2 separate regions of the Homo sapiens genome follow, and region 2 is linked to region 1. The links are contacts of gene promoters, found by promoter capture Hi-C in blood cells and fetal thymus (Javierre and others, 2016). All regions are on one chromosome and are shown on one strand. The core of a region is centred on a gene start or on the middle of the fragment in contact, and the rest is flanking DNA. Distances in the headings are between cores, read along the strand shown.

The links. Contacts are between HindIII fragments. The CHiCAGO score rates a contact against its expected background, and 5 or more counts as called.
Region 2: a contact is called between a fragment that was not itself captured here and the fragment with the promoter of P2RY14 in region 1, in 1 of 17 cell types (monocytes). The highest score is 5.1, in monocytes.

The regions. Positions count from the first base shown.
Region 1 is chr3:151,274,318-151,281,030 of GRCh38, forward strand. It overlaps P2RY14 (purinergic receptor P2Y14), which reads right to left and starts at 4,225. Exons shown (of 3, transcript NM_014879.4): 1 at 3,970-4,225. All of the region lies in intron 16 of MED12L (mediator complex subunit 12L), which reads left to right. The HindIII fragment of the contact is 3,614 bases long and covers 1,256-4,869 here.
Region 2 is chr3:151,905,857-151,912,569 of GRCh38, forward strand. The region is part of intron 1 of AADACL2-AS1 (AADACL2 antisense RNA 1); the gene reads right to left. Among named protein-coding and RNA genes, the nearest start is that of AADACL2-AS1, 19 kb to the right of the region's middle. The HindIII fragment of the contact is 1,865 bases long and covers 2,905-4,769 here.

The DNA of each region.
Region 1 (6,713 bases), core at 2,975-5,474:
TCAAACTCAGTGATAACAGGGACAGCTGGTCTGACATCTTAGGTTTTCTTTTTATCTCAGACCATATCCTCCCTCTTCCTTTTTTCACTTCTATAAAGGTAGTGCTTATAGGCATATTTATAGTGGGGAAAGAGGCAGTGAAATCCTTGTGCAGAAACATAGGTAGGCAGTTTTGGGGGCCAGGAGAGAAAGAACATTCAACACTAAAGGCCACCTCCTAGGACATTTAACTGAACTAAGTATCATTTTTCATATTCTGTTTTTGTCATCTGTACATGCAGGGCTATCAGCTCCCAGCTGGATTAAGGTTAGGGATTTGGATCTAGTCAGTAAATGACTTCTGATGAGATTAGAATCGTCTCCAAATCCCCATTAAGGAAATAAAAATGTAATCTTATAAGTTATAATATGTCCAAAGATTGTTGTCATAATTGAATGACTATCAATTCCTAGGAGTGATGATGTTAAGGTTTGTGGATATGTCTGTTAGAATGTAAGCCACCAGAGGCCCAGAACCTTTTCATCACACCATCTCTACCATTCCTAGAATGTTGGCTGCCTCATTGTAAGGAATCAGTGTTGAATGAATAAATGGCCAAAATATCCCTAGAGTGAGAAGGGGATTTCATTCATCATCTGTAGCAGGATGGAAATGTTCTTAGATGAAACCTTGTGTGAGCTCTCCTACCAACCTTTGACCTTAGGGCTCGACTCACTGGGAAGATCACATCAGCAACAGGTGAGTTCTTTCCAGCCAGGTGTCTCTCCCACTATAGAAGGTGGCACATTTCCCATCTGCTTGGTATAAATGGCTCCTAGAGTCTAGAGGCTATAAGTGATGTGATGAAAATAATTGCGTGTGTATGATCCTGGAGAGTATCGAGGATCAGATTTTTTTCCCCAAGTGATCACACCACAAGTGTACAGATCGCTTTGGGCCAACCTCAGAAGCCAACTAACTGATCTTTTCCTCTTTTCTTTGGTATCTTAACCTCAAAAGCAGATGTCATATAATTGGGTAGAAGCCAGCACCCGTCCCTGGCTGTTCTTTTATTTGAATGATGAGGGGTCAGAACATGATATCTAAGGCCTTTGATGCTTTTCAAAAACAACAGATGGGAGGTTTCAGTGAAAAATAAAAAGCTAGCAATTTAATTTATACCGAGTAAAGACAAAAATTTCAAAGGAATCTAATCAGATCTAAAAGCATATGACCAGTATTTCACTTTGACTTTAAAGAACAGGTGGATTGAGAAGCTTTGCTGTGGTAAACTTGGTGTTTCGGTGAATTAATGTAACCAAATGATTACTATAAAAATAGCATTCATTAATTACTAGATTTATCCTTTTTAAGGGTGCTAGGGAGGAAAAGAAAATTCCCTGTAAAGAAGAACCAGAAAATTTAGTAAAGAGGGTTTTGGAGACCTGATTCTCATGCTACTTAGGAAGCTGAGAATTTAAAATAGATTTTACATAGTTTGGTTGTAGGTATTTTTTCTCATTAAGATAGGATATTTTTACTGAAGTTGATTTATCTAGCTGTGCTGCTCAGACTTTTAGGAGGCAATGCATCTTTTAGTATTGCGGGGTGATGGTGGGGAGGCTATGGGTGTAGCACCAGACTTGAAGCTAATTTGAAATCCCAAGTAGTAGACAGCATCTGGCCAATGAAATGCCTTCTTAGCATCCAGTATGAACTGGCAGGGTGATCATATTGATGATCATAATTAATTTATTATACAATCAAGGACACTTTTGAGATAGAAAGGAGGCACTATTTTCAATTATGCCCAGACAACAGGTGAAAACTGGATCTGTCCCAGGACATGGGGTCACCCAAAACTGAATGTGCAACAGAATTACCTGGAGGGCTTGTTAAAAGAGATTGCTGGGCTCCACCCCCATTGTTTCTGATTCTGTAGGTTTGGGGTCAATAATTTGCATGTCTGACAAGCTCACTGGTGATGTTGATTCAGCTGGTATAGTATCTGCACTTTGAGATCCACTGCTCTATCCAAACAAACTTGGCACTCTTGTACTGATATAATTTTCAATTAAAGGAAACACTCCTTATTGTCCATCATCCTCCACTAGACAGCCTTCTGCAGGTGAGGATGCTCATGATGATGGCAGAATATGCTTGTGTTGGTGTCAGCCTACCTCCTGGACTGGTCTGTTTTTGGTATTCTAGAGACTGCTCACACTGGGAGGTTGAAACAGCTCACTTGTGACCGACCTAACTTCTAAGGATATCCTGGGGCCAAATGGAATAAACCTGTGACTTCTGAGTTCATAGAGCCTTAGGCTTAGGGAAGCCTCAACATCTAAATTCACTCAGAAGCACTTTATAGAGTGAACGTTCTTCTAGGGAGCCGTGTTCTTCTTCTGTTCAGCACTTTAGAAGCATCATAGGTGGCCTTGCTCAGGATAGTCACACCCTCTGTACCTGCTTCAACTGTGAAGTGGGCACCGTAATACTTCAGGAAATTATACTTCTTCCTCTGCACCCGGCCCACTTCCCCTGTGTCTTCATGCTTTGAGTACCTTGGAATCTCCCCACTGTTCTTTTGGTTTTATTTTTGTTTGTTTTTGTTTTTGAGACAGGGTCTCACTCTCTCGCCCAGACTGGAGTGCAGTGGCCCGATCTCAGCTCACCACAACCTCTGGCTCCCAGACTCAAGCGATTCTCCTGCCTCAGCCTCCTGAGTACCTGGGATTACAGGCATGCACCACTACCACCCAGCTAATTTTTGTATTTTTAGTGGAGATAGGGGTTTTACCACGTTGGCCAGGCTGGTCTTGAACTCCTGACCAGCCTCTCCTGAGGCCACTCACCTTGGCCTCACAAAGTGCTGGGATTACAGGTGTGAGCCACCATGCCTGGCCTCCTTGTTTTTTTTTTTTCCAGACATGACAATATAGAGTTCATTCATATATACCAATGTGTTAATTGTGTGCACACAATTGTATGCATGTTTGTATATATAGTATTCATAAATTTTACCGAAATATAAAATTCATTGCATGTTTACAAATCATAAAATATGCCATTTTGGTATTTTCCGAGTGCATTGTTTTCTTTTTAACTTAATGGCTAGGTTTTTTTTTAGTGCTAAAACTGATTATCAAGTTTGTATGTTTTAGAAAGATGAATATACAAACTATTTATTTTTTTACTAGTGTGATCTTTGATTCATTTTCTCCGTAGGATTGATTGTCCTTGGTTAACAAAGTATATGTAGACAAGATGGATTGCATGGGCTTGGTTGAATAAGCTGACATTGTGGGTCTGTGCTAATTCTCCTGAATGTAATTTAATTTATAATGTTTAAAGAATTGTAAGTAATTTAGCTGATTAGTCATAGACTATAAATAAGTAGCATATGAACTCAAATATTTGCTATGCCTAGGACAGATATTTCTGTGATTTACAATTTAAAGGCATTTTATTTTAGTAGGTGTTAATGGGGTTAACTTATCCTAATAATGACAAAGATAAAAACTTTTACCTATATAAGTGTATGTACAAGTAAATGCAACTATATATCTGTACACATATGCAATTGCAAACAAAGACATACTGACCTAAGTATTATGCTAATCGATTTTGTAGTTTTGAGAAGCAATTTTAATACACATTTACGAGCTTTTGAAATGTTTGTCCTGGATGAATACCTTTTAAACATTTTCCTTGATATCTCTTCATCACAGATATATTTTGACAGCCACGATTGGAAATCCTAAATCATAAATGATAATATTTCAGTATTGGATCCCCATATTAGCATGGGGAAATATATTAATATACCAATTATAGTTGTCAAACAAAAAGTAACCTACTGAGAAAAATGTGAGTGGCAATGGTTCAGTGTTCCTCAGCTTTGTTGCTGCCCAGCTCAGAAATCTTTTCTGTTCCCATGCACCATTCACATACATGCAAGTCATTTCATGGAAAAGCTGTTTTCTTACCTGCGTCTAGGCCTTCATCTGTGAGAGTCATGCTTCACTCATTTTGAAATACCTCTCATTGTAGGCTCCAAGGTAACACTGTTACAGAGTTCTTGCTCATCTTCAACTACGGATGAAAATCAGGAACTTGACAGAAACCACAAGATAGTGGGTCCCTCTGCTGCTGTTGTCAGATAGAATTTATTGAAGACTGGGACGTGGAAACAAAGAGGAAGGAAGAGACGTTTTAATCTCTGTGGGTGTTAGGCTGACTTCTGAGCTAGTTCCTTTCCTCCAGTAATGCAAAAACAGTCCTGCTTTCTTATTTCTCCTCCTACTTTTCCCCACATCCCTACATCATCTGATGCACAGCCAGGCAAAAACCTGTTTTCTTTTCTAACCTTTGCCATTGTCAAATTCAACATGTGGTATGAGGTGGAGAACTGATGTGTAAGATATGGTTCTTTCTGAAGCACCCTCAGAAAATTGTCAGCAGCTTCACAGTATAACGTGCAGAGATGGGTAGTTGGAGCTACCTGGAAATGCGGAATTAACAGAATAAAGAAGTATTTTGACACCAATGTCGACATATTCTAGATAAGAGGTGTTGCATTGTCATTTTTCCCACATTAATTTTCCCATATTTGAACATTACTGATAAATAGATCACAAGTAGGACTTCAGATAAACTCCTCGTGTGTTAACATTTTGGTGTTTGTGCTGTGTTACTATTTTGAAAGTCTTCATATTTTTAGTTCCTTTCAGGCTCTGTAATATAATTGGTGATGTCCTGCAGTGCTCCACTGTCTTTCCCATTGACTATTAGTGCCATTAGATTTGGAAGTTTTCAGAAGATGGCTACAAAGTCCTCTTCAAAGTGTATAACTCAGAACCAGAAAGAAAGAAGACAAGGGGCTGAAAAGCTTACTTTATAAGGTTCCTGCATTTTAAGTGTATTTACTTAGGCTGTTCCATTGCCAAATTATGGGTAACAACTAGTAAAGTTCAGCTTGCCTTAAAAACATAGCTATACATTTAGTTATAATAATTATAACTGGCTTATGACATGCCCGTTACTATTCTAGTTGCTTTATATGTACTTGCTACGTAGGAGGCAGTGTTCTGGACATTGGAGATGGAGTAGTGACTGACACATACCCAAACAGTTATTTCCCTCATGAAGAGTATTTTCTTACTTTCTGTCTCACAGACTTGCTAGTCACTGTTGATCCTTGGCAAAGACCTGTGAGACACAGAGCTTGTTTAGAGAAGTTCGCCATTTCTCCCTGCCAGAGGGACTCTTCTTCAGACCCCCAGCGGGCCCCAATAGTCCTCACTGATGCTTTGATTGAGGGGCTAAGAATACTGATGTGCATAGAGAGGCTTGTTAGCTTCAGCTGCAGTGAGATCTGGTAGGTAAATAAACTTAAGGACAAGTGGATGTGAGGAGGAGCCGCTAGAGCCTGGTTATTACCAGGGCACATTGCAGAGTCCTCCAGATGTAAACATTTTGCTGATTAAATTGATGATTTGGCAGGAACCGTATCTCTAAGGTGCGACTCTCAAGACTTCCCTGATTTATTGCAGGAGATGCTGTTTACTCTGACAGTCTCAAAAACACCCATTAATTGTTCCGGGTCCCTTTTGTGCTTCTTGACTTCCCCGTGGGGTGTTTCACATAGATGTTATTGAGTATGACTGGGGAGAACATGATAATTTGTTGCTTCTTGACTTCCCCGTGGGGTGTTTCACATAGATGTTATTGAGTATGACTGGGGAGAACATGATAATTTCTTTGACTGGAGCTGCTTGCTTGCCTCTTAATGCCAGGAGTTGCAAAGTCCAAGGCCAAAAGGATAGCCCTACAGGTGGTCCCCTCGTGGCAGGTGGTACAAATGGGTTGGACTCTGTGTAAGACACTTGGGAGTAGAGGGAGTATGGAGAAATGGAAAGCTAAAGGGCCCACCCAGGGGGACAGTTGTGTCTGGAAGCTTGCCAGAGTCATGGGCCTCATCTTGGGATGGGCCAGTGTCTTCAGAACATTAAACGCTGATTTGCATGTACTGTTCTAAACACTCTGTGTGTTTTAGCTTGATTACTCACAATGGCTCCATGAGTAAAGTAGGTCTGTCTACTACTTCTTCCCCACCTTTTTCTTAATAGACAAGGAAACTGAGGCATGGAGATGTTACATCAGGTTGCTGGAGCTGGGCAGATCCTGGAGCCTGTGCACTGCTACTGCCTTTATATGTCTCCTCTGATTTCATTTGTTGGTGTCTAAATCGAATACCTTACAAACCAGTGTAGACCTGATACCCTGTGGGCTAAAACAAAACCTGAGTGTGCACTGTATTGGGCTTGTGAGCAGTCAGCTTGTGACCTCTGTTCTGTGGTTTTATTGGCACGTAGCAGTACAAGGATGGTGAGGGGTGGGTAGGGGGCAGACAGCTAGGCACTTGAAAGGAAAGCTCATCTGGAAAGATTGGATCGTCTCAAATGCACATACTCGTACACTCGATTGAAGCGTACTCTGTGCCTACTAGATCTTTTCACAGCCAAAACACCTGGCAACCCTTGGAGAAGTAACTATTCCTTTTTTTCACAAGTAAGAAAATAGAGCCTCAGAAAATTTAACAGTTGTCTAAGCTAGAAAGTAGCAGGACTGGACTTTGAAGTAGTCTTTAGGTTGTGCTGTACATTTTGTGGATATGCTTAAATCACAGTTTAGCTTGTACACATTTTCCTTTATTAGAATTGGAAGTAAG
Region 2 (6,713 bases), core at 2,587-5,086, 630 kb after region 1:
ATACATGACTGAAAGTGAGACATGCCCCTCATATTACTAACTTCTTTAGAATGTTCCTAAGTCCAGCGTGGGTCAATGCACAGTTTTTATTTTATTTGCTGTTGGGATGATTAACACATAAACCTTGTGTTTTTCCTACATTTGCATCTTAAGATGTTCATCTTTAACCCTCTGGAAACTGGTCTCATTAATCCAAGTATTCCCTCACTGCTGTTACATATTGATTAGTAAAATAAAAAGATGTGGTTGTCTGAAGATCTACTTAAGGCTACAATGCTTCATATTTTAGTCTGGGGTCATTGGTTGTAAGTAACAGAGACTCACATAGAGCATATTAGGTAAAATCCAAAAACCTATTAAAAGAGTATAGGGTCTATTTTTCACTACAAATATAGATCTTTAAAATATAAAACAAAATCCTTTCATCTAGTATCAGGATTTTTTTTAACTGATGGTAAATGTTAATTACTGTAAGAAACTTCCATCTTTCATTTAATTTTTATCACTTTAGAAAATCTAATCAGTATCTTTACACTAATTTTACTTGTCTTGTTAGATGAGTTAGTAAGGCTGGTAAATAATTTATAATAACCAGGTCTTATTAAAAATCTAATCCCTTTAGGTATCTAAATTTCTTGTTTTTTCTCTTCTACCCTGGATGTCTGTATTTTGAAGAATTAGACTTTGGAAGTACAGTGGACATAAAACCACTCTTTTCCACTCTGCCTCACTCAACCTTAACAAATCTGCCCATGCCCTGTAATTAGAGATTCTGCTCCCAGATAAACTCCTAAATGAACAAGGATCACATGCTATGTCCTGAATGTAGATTTTCTTTCAAAATTCTTATGTTGCAACCTAATACTCAGTGTGGTACTATTAAGAAGTAGGGCCTTTATGAAGTGATTAGGATAAAATTGATAATCTTATAAAAGAAGGTGGAGGAAGCCTCTAGCCTCTTCTGCCATTGGCATAATCTATAAAGAATGAGCCTTCACTGGACACCGAATCTTAATTTTGAGCTTCCCAGACTCCACAACTATGAGCAATACATTTCTGTTGTTTATAAATTATTCTAAGGTATTTTGTTGTAGCAGCCTGATCAGACTAAGCTACCACACAATCCATCTCTTTAGCCACAGCAGATAGAATAGAAGGAGGGTTTAATACCAGACCAATAATAGGGCAATTAATTAGTTTCTTTCTCAAAGGAAGTTCTTGAAGATTAAATGAGGATGATCCCTTATTTTCTGCTACGTAATGAGCAAAGAAGATGTCAATCTAAAGGATAGAGCAAAATAAGAGACTTCTTAGGGGACCAGACATACACTCCTGGAAGTTTGAATGTATATGTAAATGTAGTGACTCAAACTGTTTCTTACCCGGAAGACTGAGAAGACTAAAAGCTTGCTAGATTACTCCATATCAGCAAATATATAAGAAGCAAAAGCAATGTAACTTTTATTAGCCTGGCAAAGACATGCAAGTTTTTCATTGATCAAGGGGAATTAGGCTTGAACCATTTTACTAGTCCTCAGTTCAGAGACCCATCACCTAAGTAAGATGATCATAGAAGCACAAGTTGGAGCTGCTGAGTGGCTCAAAAACGTCTGCTTGAAAACACAAGACCCAGATAACTCTGCATCAAGGAGACTTCCTACAGGTCCTCCAAGGAACTCATACGTGTTGCCCATGCAGGCCACTGTAAGGAGACTTGTTACCTACATGACGTCAAAGACCAGGGACTACAGCAACATGAATCTGACCTTAGAGGAATCTGAGAGCAGAAGAGAAAGGAGGGTATAATCTTAAGGCAGAAAAGGCTTTGAATTAGAATTTTCAGTGAAGTTTTTCTAATAACTGAATATGACCACACTTATCCACATGATTGTGGAGACTGGCAGATATCAGAAGACTTACCCAAAGGTGTAATTTCCAACATGTCCCAGCTAGTAATTTCAAATGGGAGCAGCCTGAAAGCTGAGTTTAGACAATTTTGACTTCAATAACTCCTTAGAATTGTGCATTAGAAGGAGACAAAATAGGGATCTACCTGACAGGGATGCAACAGCCTCTAAGACTGGGATGGGTTGTTGGAAAAAAGAATAGTATTAAATACAATTATAAGACACTAGATCATTTATAAAGTATGGTTAAAAAATCATGATACCATACGAAAGACCTTGTAATCATCACAGAACTGACTTTTGGAGTCCAAATGACTACTGAAAAATCTAGAAATAAAATAGATATTGACTATTATATACTAAACAAATGGCCTAAGTCCGACCGATATACCTTGTTGTTAGTATGCCCTGGGCTTTCTAGTAGAGACAGTAGTTATTGTTAGTTTCAAAGAATGGCTATTAGGAGGCCAGAACAGGTATGAAGAATTTAGTATTCATTTGTTCAGAATAATTTTTTCCTATCCTAAAACAATGGATTGGGGTTTCTCCAGATACCATTTACTACCAGTGACTGATTTACAAGTGTTAGAATATTTAGATAATGTGATTGTATTTGGGAAGACTTTGGAGAAAAAAAAAAAACTAAATCCTTAGAGTGACAGACTATCTCAATGAGTCAGAATTGAATATGTTCCCTAAGAAGTAGGGTTCTGTTCTGTTGTGCCTGCGCCTATTCGTCTGCTAACTTTACAGTAGATATAGTTTCTCATCAGAGCAACTGTTGTCCTTATCTGCTGGCCTCCTTTCAGGAGATTTAGAGAAGTAAAGATGCTCTGAAAGTTTAGCTGGTGTTTCATGCTGTCAGTGAAAGATTACACCTGGATCCTCATTCATTTGACTTGTAAGCATTTGGTTAGCACAAAGCTCCCTCCCATGTGTTCAAAGATGCCCATAGTGGCTGTGGGAGAGAGACGAGTGACCCTATCACCTCCAGGGAAGCTTGGAGTAGGTAGTCTAAACCCTCAACCAGGTGTTCTCCCCCTTAGCTGACTATTAGAACAACCTGGTGAGGTATTTTTTTTTTAATTCAGAAATTCCAATTCAAGTAATCGATTTTCCTTTTAAGGCTTCCCCAGGTGACTCTAATATTTAGTGAGATTAAGCATGTTTGTCTTAATCAAACATCTCAATTTAAATTCTGCTGACTTTAATAACCATTGCACATCACACATTGATGGTGGCTCAGAAGTTGAAAGAGTGGTAATATACTTTTAAAAATTTAATAATTGGAGAATGGAAACTCTGGCATTTGCTAGTCCTTGACTAAAAGCTCAACCTCTTATTCACAAAGTAGACTTTTTATCGAAGAGGTGGGCTACATGAATAAATTTAAGGTGTATGTGTTTGAAAGACCATTTTAAGAGTTGACCAGTAACAACACTCTTACTTCTTATTTATGTCCTAACTGTTCTAAATTGGGTGGGACAGTACTACAAGGTTCACTGGCTATGAGAGTTGTTGCTGGCCAAGGTTAAACCAGAGAAGGCAAATGCTCTGTTAGGCAGGTATCATCCTCAGACACTGATACCCTCTTTAGTGAAGTAGTAAAATCTATTTGGGATGATAACTGAAAGAGCCTCACACAGTTGGGGTGGACAGAGACATGATTGATAATCTAGTGCTTCCACCAGAGATTCTACTAACAGCAACTGAGAATTAAGCAACTTGAAATCTAGCCTCCTTCTAGGTGGAAATGAAGGACTGATAATAGGGCCTTTGAGGCAGATTTGGAGGTATGGATCAGAGTGGAGCGAGAAAGGTAAGCATTCTAGCAAACTGTATCTACATCTTCCCCAAAAGTAGGAGAACCTTATTCAGAGCGTGAAATAAATGATCACCAATTAATGGTATATGATATAGTGTCATCATGCCCAAGGCATTAGTTATGGAAGCAGTTGGTCTTGGCCAGAAATACTGCTCCATTGTGCTGAGAATGAAGCATAATAATTTCCTCTAGGGAGGAAACATGCCAGAATCAATCATATTGTAGGATACAGCAGCTAATGTTCACACAAAATGTGACTATTTTCTCAGAGAAAAATATTATCCAGCAAATCAGCGTATCTGGGAATGACTCAGCCATTACACTCTATAATCAGTATGCATTGACTTTCCTGTGTTTAGAATCAGAGAGACAAAATCTGGACAACTTTCTCCAAGTTATGAATCAGTTTATAATTTCTATGCCCAGATAATTCCAACCTGAAATTTTCCACTTGTTTTCTTTCCAACCAAAGCAATTTTATTTTATTTTTAGTCAATCTGGAAATATTTTTATCAATTAATCTCCACCAAGTATAAACTTGGTGGAGATCAAAAGTTCCTATCATTCCATAGGAGGTCCATGCCAAAGAGACTTAACAAGTTTATTAATCACATGGGAACTCTCCTAGGAGGCAGAAAATACAATAGGTTTTCAAGTCAGGGCATCCAATGTCACTAAGAGTGTTGCTACTAGATTTCCTCTTTGACTCTTAATGGAATTACCAGAGCCTTATGCCCCTCCATGGCTGTTTGTAGGCTGCTTCTCCTAAGTTGCAGGAGAAGCTATAAGGGGTTTGTCTACCATCTTTTATGTTGATTTATCACAGCAATTATATAGAAAAACATTAAAGATGCCCTGTTACAAAGCCTGTAGAATTTAGTTTCAAATAAGCATAAAATACTTGATAGGTAAAATGGAATCCCATGTCTGAAAGTATATCAACTGGGTTTTCATCTTGCATATATGGTGGAGCCAGAGACCCAGAGACGAGGAGTGGAGCTATCAAGCAGTTCTTAAAAACCATTTGTCAATCAGGAAGCTTCACAGAAGAAGCTCTGCAACCCCACTCCCCTGACTCCCTACCCACAAACTCCCAAAATTTACATAAAACTCATGACTCAATGGTCCAAATGAGGGCAATAAGAGTTCCCATTTTCTTCTCCATTAGCAAGGAAGAGGAGAAAGAAGGTGTTGTCCTCTCCTTAAGAGTAGTTCCAGTGTATCCTCTACTTTGAGTAAAGGTGAGAAACATACTATCATAACACCGAGATGTCATGAATGCTCCTCTAAAGACCTTATTCTCCAAGCAGAAGAGTTGAAGCCCACTGGATCAACCCACTGCATGCAGGACAACAATGAGAAATGCATCATGAGAAAAAAGTTGGCTTCTCATGTAGAAGGAATCTGGATATTCACCCAACATCATGGTGGCAGCAAGAGTTCTTTGTGCCATCTCACGTTTCCATTCTGCCTGGCATGCTATTCATGAGCACTGGTTCTGTGTAAGCAATGGTTTCAGACATTGGTGATGAGTAGATAAATACTCGTTAAGTCCCTGACTACTAGTGGATCACATTATAGAGAGGGAAGAAGTAAAAGTTATTATAAAATGTGCTATACCAGCTATAGCAGAGGTATTGAAAAGACACTAAAGAGAGCAGAGAAAAAGGGAGATTTAACTGTATATGGGAAAGAGGTAGAAAGGTTTTACAGGGAATGCCTCATGATGTAGCTGTCACTTGAACTGAATCACAAAGGAACAATATTTCCCAGATATACAAACAGAATAATATTCTATGTCCAAAAACAAACAAGCAGGATTAATGTGTAGTAAAGAATTTGGCCTTGCCCTAAATCAGGTCTGGCTTTTGGGAGATAATCTGTTGTAGCTGATAGGAGTGTTTTTCTTGAGGATAGAAGTTGATTTCCATAGTCTTACAGCAGAAGCTGGCTACGTTAGGACCAATCATGTGATTTAGGATAGGGACTTTGGGCTCATGGTATCAGTCAACCCAGAGACTGAGATCAACTACATAGGCAATTGACAAGCATGCCTGCAGAATGAAGCCCCAATAAAAACTCTGGGCAGCAGAGCTCTGGTGAGCTTCCCTGGTTGGCAGTATTCCATGCATGCTATCAAAAACTGATAATGAAATATGCATGTTGAGTAAAACAAAAACTTGATGTTTGGAATTCTTCCAGACACTGCCCTATGCACCTCTTCCTTTGCTTGATTTTTATCTGTCCCCTTTCCCTGTAATAAACCATTAACATCATAGCTTTCAGTGAGTTTTGTGAAAACTTCTAGTAACTTTTCAAAACTTAGAGTGGTTTGGAGAACCTCCAAACTTGTATTTGGTGTCAGAAGTGAGGGTGGTCTTGTATGGACTCTTCACACTAACTCTGTAGTTGGACTCTAGTTGGACTCTAGCTCCTTTAAAACTGTGTCAGAAGTCTTGTGCATACATGGCAGTATGTGGACTGTGCCCTCAAACCTAACAGTTTGGCTCATTCTGAATAAATATCCATGGTAATTTTTGAAAATTCTGAATTATCTCAGTACTTCAATTTGGAGGGGAGGAGTGAGACATGTAGACTAATGATGACAGATGAGTCTGGAAAGGAAAGGAGTGATTATTTTATGAAAGGTCTGACTCACTGTAATAACTAGTTGGAATATATGAGTCCCGAATTTGAAGTCAAACTTAGGTCAAATCCTGACTCTAACACAGGATTAACCAAGGGAAATTATGTATCCTCTGTTATAAAGTGGTGAGGAGGATGAAGGGGAAGGTATGGATTAGTCAAATAAAGAGCCAGAAGTATTTCTACAAATGGGATACTTGGATCTAGGACTAAGAATAAATCACCAATAAAGAGGAAAAATTAATATCCAAGAAACTGGTTAATCGTGATGTTTTAATAACAAGTATATACCTCTCCATTATGTCTCCTACGGACTGCTCATATTGCTAAAATTC